Regions from separate parts of the Homo sapiens genome. Here region 2 is linked to region 1. Evidence: promoter capture Hi-C in 16 types of primary human blood cells and fetal thymus (Javierre and others, 2016). All regions are on one chromosome and are shown on one strand. The core of a region is centred on a gene start or on the middle of the fragment in contact, and the rest is flanking DNA. Distances in the headings are between cores, read along the strand shown.

Region 1 (3,369 bases), core at 368-2,867:
TGTGTGTGTGTGTGTGTGTACATATATATTTGCACTCATTATCCGTTCATCCATTGATGAAAAGTAGATTATCCCTATATCTTGGCTATTGTGAATAATGCTGCAATGAACATGAACATATATCTTCAGGATAGTGATGTTGTTGCTAGATCACATGGTAATTCTATTCTTAATTTTGTGAGGAGCCTTTATACTGTTTTGCACAATGGCTCTACTAATTTACATTCCCATCAACAGCATACAAAAGTTCCCTGTTCTCCACCTTCTCCCCAATGCTTTCATATTTTGGGCCATTCTGTATGGTTTACTGTACCGTATGACAGTAATGCTGTGCAGTATGTGCTATAGCCATTTTTGCATCTACTGGTACCAGTTCTGAAATAGCAGCGGCGCCCTTTCTGTTTAGAGTCGCCTTCTGGTGGTAGGAATTCTGGTTGCTACCATGTGTAGCCTGCAAGCCTCTAGCAGCTCTTTTGCAGCGACGCCGAGCGCCGGGCGCGGTGGCGCGTGCCTGTAGTCCCAGCTACTCGGGAGGCTGAGGCTGGAGGATCCCTTGAGTTCAGGAGTTCTGGGCTGTAGTGCGCTATGCCGATCGGGTGTCCGCACTGAGTTCGGCATCAATATGGTGACCTCCCGGGAGCGGGGGACCACCAGGTTGCCTAAGGAGGGGTGAACCGGCCCAGGTCGGAAACGGAGCAGGTCAAAACTCCCGTGCTGATCAGTAGTGGGATTGCGCCTGTGAATAGCCACTGCACTCCAGCCTGGGCAACATAGTGAGACCCTGCCTCTTTTGAGTTCTCACCTTATAAAGTAGCCTTTCTTCCCATGCATCTATCCTAAGACAAAAGAAATGCAGAATTTACATTCTTACAGGACTATTTTCCTCACTACACTGTGAATCCCCCCTCCCACCCCACCCCCATTGGGAATCTTCTTGTTTTTATTTTTATCTTATTTCACCATTATCTAGCTAAACACTTGCACATTCATGCTGCCAAGTGTTTATGGAGCACCGATTGTACACCAGGTACTGCGGTGAGTCTCAGGGGTACCAAGACCGAGGTTCGATGAGAATCCTGTAATCAATTGCAGAATGCTCCTTCCGAGAGCAGGACCCATCAAAATAGGAACTCCGTTTTGAGAGTTCGCCTCGATCGTTGAGGATAATCTTAGAAGGACCGAAGCAGTTCCGTTTCGTTACATTTCAAAATCTTATGTCAAAGTAAGCGCGCAGAAAGGGGTCCTTGCTCTTCTACACTGAGCCCTACGGCCCCCCTGTGGGGAAATACTCCTGATAATCATCTCGAAAATTGTTTCGACCAGCAGGGGTCACTATGAAGGCTGACTTGAGCCCAAGACACAATGGGGCACGGTAACCAGACTGGTCCGTAAGGGTTCCAGGAAGGAATGCAGTTTCAAGAGAACAGTTTGAATCTTTATTCGAATTTGAATTTTGGTACAATGAAGAGAGTCAGCTGCAACTTGACAATCGAAATCTTCAGAAAAGCGACACAAATACGTTCGCCTCGAGGAATATTGGGTCTTCTGCGCGGCCGTAGAGCTCCGCCAAGTGCGCCTGCGCGGAGGAGAAGTGGCGTCGAGTCCGGCCGGGCAGTAGAGGAACTTGCGGTAGTGACCCTCGGGCCTCGCCATGAAGAGCCGCTTTAGCACCATTGACCTCCGCGCCGTACTCGCGGAGCTGAATGCTAGGTACAGTACCCTAAGTGACGAGGCTCGTGTGGGGAGTGCAGGAGGCAGAGGCCGGAGTCCCATGGCGCAAACAGACCAGCTTGATATGTTTCCTTATTTCCTAGTGCGTCTATGGACCTGCCTAGGCCTGAGTGGGCAGGCGTGTGGTGTCTTTCCCGTGACCCTTAGGATACCCCTGGGGGTCCCAGGCACCTCGTGCCCCATCCCCCGCGTCCTCCCAGCTCTCTGGCTTGCCCCGCTAGCGCGAAGCTCTTGCATTGTTGGCCTGGGTTGTCCGGGTTGGGCAGGAAACGTTTGTTAAAACACGAGACGCCAGAGTGGTCGTTTGCTTCAGAGGTTTCCAGACTGGGGGCTTGGTTTCTTGAACACCTCCCTCCCCTCACCCCAGAGAGAGAGAGAGCATCGCGGTTTTAGCTGGATTGAGCAGATTTGGACTGAGATCTGGATTCTAGTCTGGATTCTATTATTCAGCCCTGTGAGCTTTGTCATATTTTCGGGGCCCTCTTTTATCTTTTTTTTTTCTCCCTTGTAATAAATTAATTGGATTATATTTTACTGTATTTCTCCCCCAAAATTGGGTCATTTGGAAGACGCAAGCTATAGTGTGTTGTTCCTAGAGCTGATAGACCACTTCTGTTTTTAAATCGTTACTCTTAAGTTTTGAACTGAATCTCCAAATGGCTTTCAGACTCTGCTCCTCGGCTGACTCCATATCCTTAGAGACTGAGATCCGCTCTTTCGAAGCTTTTATTAAATTATGTGTAGTTTTATGTTTCAGACAATAGTGTAACATGTTACATGTTTCCTTTATCTTTGCAGCTTGCTAGGAATGAGAGTAAACAATGTTTATGATGTGGATAATAAGACATACCTTATTCGTCTTCAAAAGTAAGAACATTTTATAGGCTTATTTTCTCTTTGACAATTAAGTATGAGATTACTGATTTTTTTTAACCTACATTTTAAGCCTGTTTAGCAATTAGCTTTGGCATATACCCTAAAGAAAAATTCGACTTTTTTCTTCTACAGACCGGACTTTAAAGCTACACTTTTACTTGAATCTGGCATACGAATTCATACAACAGAATTTGAGTGGCCTAAGAATATGATGCCGTCTAGTTTTGCCATGAAGGTAAACTTGTTACGCTTGAAGCTAAATTTTAAGAGATTGCTCACTAACAATTAAGTTTTTAATTGGGGTTTCCTTCACTGTTACGAATAAAGTGCAGATAAAATGAAGGTAAAGGGAGTGGTTGACAGATAATGGGTTGAATAAAGTGAATATTTATTAATTGATTTCTCCCCATTACCTTTCACATCCTGTTCTGCTCCAGATCTTCTGTTTCCACAGTCACTATTAGAGTTCAAGCTTTTATCACATTCAGCCTTACAGTTCCTTAACTGTAATTCACTTCTCTGCATCAAAACAATTCTAAATTAGACCAACGTTAATTTTTTTGTTTTTGTTTGTTTGTTTTTTTGTTCGTTTTTGAGAAGGAGTCTCGCTCTGTCACCCAGGCTGGAGTGCAGTGGCACAGTCTTGGCTCACTGCAACCTCTGCCTCCCAGGTTCAAGTGATTCTCTTGCCTCAGCCTCCTCAGTAGCTGGGATTACAGGCGTGTGCCACCAGACCCGGCTAATTTCTCTATTTTTAGTAGA
Region 2 (3,533 bases), core at 261-2,760, 1.1 Mb before region 1:
AATTTTAAATACGAAACTGTTCCCTACGACCCCCTGTAGGGAGGAGTGCAGAACTGGGATAGCGATCAAAGGGGATGCTGGCATAATAAATTTTTTTGTCTGTAACTTTTAATATTTTTAAGGAAGATGCATTAATGTATTATTTGTGAAATTTAAATTTAATAATAAAAATGTACTACCACACATGTATCAGATTGTATTCTATGAAAAATAATTATCTCCTCTCTTTTAGAAATTGTTCAAAAATCTTCTGATTTTGCATACACCCAAGTTACTAGAAAGCCATTTGCATCTGTTTCATTTTTTTCATCCTTAGTACATTAGTCACAGTGTGCTTTAACATTGTCATTAATAATGAACAAAACAAAATAAAACAATGCCTGTGGGATACTTGCCACCTTCCTGTGAAGTTAATTATCAGACAATTTAGTAGGCTTTCTATGGGGCTGCAGGAAGGCCAGCAGTGCTGATGCACATCTGAGAATAAGAACCAGCCTGCCTACCTTTTATGTGAAGCCCGAGCCCTCAGTCTTTGTTAGCTAGGTTAACTCTGTGTCTGACATTCATGACATCGCTCCTTGAGTTGACTGATGAAGTCAGAGTGAAGAGGCTGATGAAGCTGAGAATTCTCATTAGATGATCTCATCTAAGTTGGGACCCCCTCTAAAGATAATCTGATCAGGACTCAGGAAAAGCCGAAGAGCCACAGCTCAAAGAGAACAGGAATGGGAGCAGAGCCAGGCCATATGTGAGCACAGGGATTGGCGATGTAAGAAAAACTTGAAAGCCTAGGCCATTTGTGTTTGTGGATCTCTGTTTTAAGGGCTGTACCACCAACCTCATTCAATCCCTTTCTGTTTGATCTACAGCTTTTAATATTCTTGTCAGTTTTAATTCCTACTGTACACTTCCTCATTCTGTGTATATTTCTCAGCTTAAATTCCTGGGAGGGACAATCTGATTAGTGTAACACCTTAGTTTTCATCCAGCCACAAGACAGATCCTTACCCAGCCTGTTGGTTAACTGTTCTGGATCAGATGCCCTGTCATTAAATAACAGAAAACCTAGCAAAAATGCTTCAATCAAAAAGGACATGTGTTATCATATAACAAGAACTCCAGAGGTAAGGCCATTCCAAGACTGGTTTATTCAGCAGCAGGAGTATAGCAGGACTCCAGGTCTCTGGTCCTTTTGTCTTTCCCCTCATGGAAAAAAGACAGTGGCAGCAAGGAAAATCTTTCCCAGAATTCTCCTATACCCAACAGACTTTCTAGCACCACTCATCTGATTGAATGTCATTGTATGCCCACGGAGAAGGAAATACAATTGCTATGATTGGCTTAGCAGATTAGACCAATCCAGCAAGATTCACTTCCTGGTTCAGCCTCCCTGAAGCATATGATCACCTAATATCTGAACAACAGTGGAATTCCATTAGCCAGGAAGAAACAGAGCTGGCCACAGAATATCTTGTCAGTCAGTTGCTGGAAGGGAATGGGACACATATAAGTTATACTCTCCTGGGACTGTCTTTTCCAGTGGGGTGAGTCTTAGGGGAGGATAGAGACAGCTTCCCTTAGAAAAGGCAGTGTGGGGACAATAATCGACATTATCTGGTGCAGGTTGGCTTCCTTATCTGTTCTCAAACAAAATGTACACAATAGTTATTTCTAGATGGTGAGGTCATAGATGAGATTTTCTTCTTTATACATTTTTGCATTTTCTAACTTTTCTATAGTATTAATTTTATAATTAGAAATGAGTTATTTTTAAAAATCAATACCCATTGTGCAGTAGTATCTGTGCTTTAGAATACAAATGTGGTTCTTCATATAACAATGTTTTGTGGCTGCCATGTGTTTTAGGGAAAGACTGGAAATTTTGGCTCAGCTTAATGACTCTATCTTTTGCCTGTGCTCTGTTGAATGTAGCCTGCTTCTTGGATTCCATGGCAACCCTGGGACTTGCAGCCTATGGATACGGCATTCGGTATGAATATGGGATTTTCAATCAGAAGATCCGAGATGGATGGCAGGTGTGTGAGCCATCTTTTTAAATTTTGTCATTAAGGTACTTCTCTTTCATGGTGCTCTGGATGATTTATAATATATGGACCTTTAACATAGAGCTGTACTAATTTCTCTGGCATTTGGTTGGTATCAGTGAGTTCTATCTATCCATCTTCCCACTTCAGAATGTATGTTCCCCAAGAACAGAGAGCCTTCCAGTATCACTCATCACCAGATCCATTGCACTGAGGGCAGTGGCTGACGCACAGGGTGCTCTGAAAATATATATCACTGACTGCCTGATTGTGGAGCACCTACAATGTGTGATGTTCCATTCTCTGCAGCAGTCATAATGGAGGAGCACATCTTTGACTCATGATCTCAGCCAAGAACCCTTGATGATAGGAAGCACATTGCCATTTTGTAGGTGAGAACACTGAGTCTCTGAGGAAGTAAAGTTACCTCAGATCACACTGCTGGCCAATACATGTCTGTATCCCCAGATTCCCAGGACCATATTCAGTATTCTATTCTACACTCAGAGTCTTGCCTTCTTTAATATGCTATGGTTACAAGACACAAACCAAGTGTCCTGATTTTTTTATAAGATGAAATCAGACAGTGTTGTTAACTGTTATAGCAAATAAATCTGGCACACATTTAATATGTATAATTACACTGCCCCATAGAAATTTGTACAAATCTATCCAAATGACACTACTTTTACTTTATATAATCAAACCAGATTGTTAGGTACTTATTTTTTTTTTATCTCTGGTAACTGTTTGAGTCTACAGTCGCCCTAGTGTGGACAGTTTTTGCTAATACTAAGTGTGATTTAGGCTTCCTCTCTCCCTATTTTTGTCTCATACATACACCATTGACAGAAATATATATCTTCAGTTTCCAAAAAACTTGAGCTCTCTGAGCCTTTCCCACACTTATGAGATGAGTCCAACAAGAGAACGCTCAGGGACTGGATGCAGAGACCTAGGCTGTGCCAGGATAAAGGAAGATAACCCTATGAGAATGAGTTTAGTGTCACCACTGCCCTCTTTCCCCTCCCTCAGTATTTGGATTCTTTGTGAACCAAAAAAGGGAGGAACTAAAAAATTTGGTTTGATGAGAGAATGTGCCAAGGAAAAAGACTCAGGAGAATATTAGGGATAGAGTGGAAGACAAACTTCCACATTTTGCTAAGGACCAGAGCTGTTTATCTTTAGCTACCCCCAAATAAATAAAAGCTGAGAGGCAGCATCTTGTAGAAGAGAAGCCTGGGTCCTAATTTCTCATTTGAGACCTAATGTCAACTTAGGAGACCTGATTACTTTTATGAGGTATGCTGTCTCAACTAGGTTACCAAACTTCCCTGAACCTCAGTTTTCTCAATGGCAAAATGGAGATACAAACTCTACAGAATTATTATAAAAACATGTAAAATATCTGGCACACAATAAAATGCTAATATTAGTAAGCACACAATAAAATGCTAATTTTGCCTAAGAAAAGGAGGATGCTTTAAT

Evidence for each region. Contacts are between HindIII fragments. The CHiCAGO score rates a contact against its expected background, and 5 or more counts as called.
Region 2: a fragment that was not itself captured here is called in contact with the fragment with the promoter of NEMF in region 1 in 1 of 17 cell types (monocytes); the score reaches 5.1 in monocytes.

The regions. Positions count from the first base shown.
Region 1 is chr14:49,851,036-49,854,404 of GRCh38, reverse strand. NEMF (nuclear export mediator factor) reads left to right here and starts at 1,617. Exons shown (of 33, transcript NM_004713.6): 1 at 1,617-1,710; 2 at 2,530-2,598; 3 at 2,740-2,842. The coding sequence starts at 1,652. It also overlaps RN7SL3. RefSeq lists a silencer at 508-567 and an enhancer at 1,371-1,610. The HindIII fragment of the contact is 4,280 bases long and covers 1-2,456 here.
Region 2 is chr14:50,930,176-50,933,708 of GRCh38, reverse strand. It overlaps PYGL (glycogen phosphorylase L), which reads left to right. Exons shown (of 20, transcript NM_002863.5): 4 at 1,933-2,036. Among named protein-coding and RNA genes, the nearest start is that of PYGL, 13 kb to the left of the region's middle. The HindIII fragment of the contact is 4,432 bases long and covers 1-3,533 here.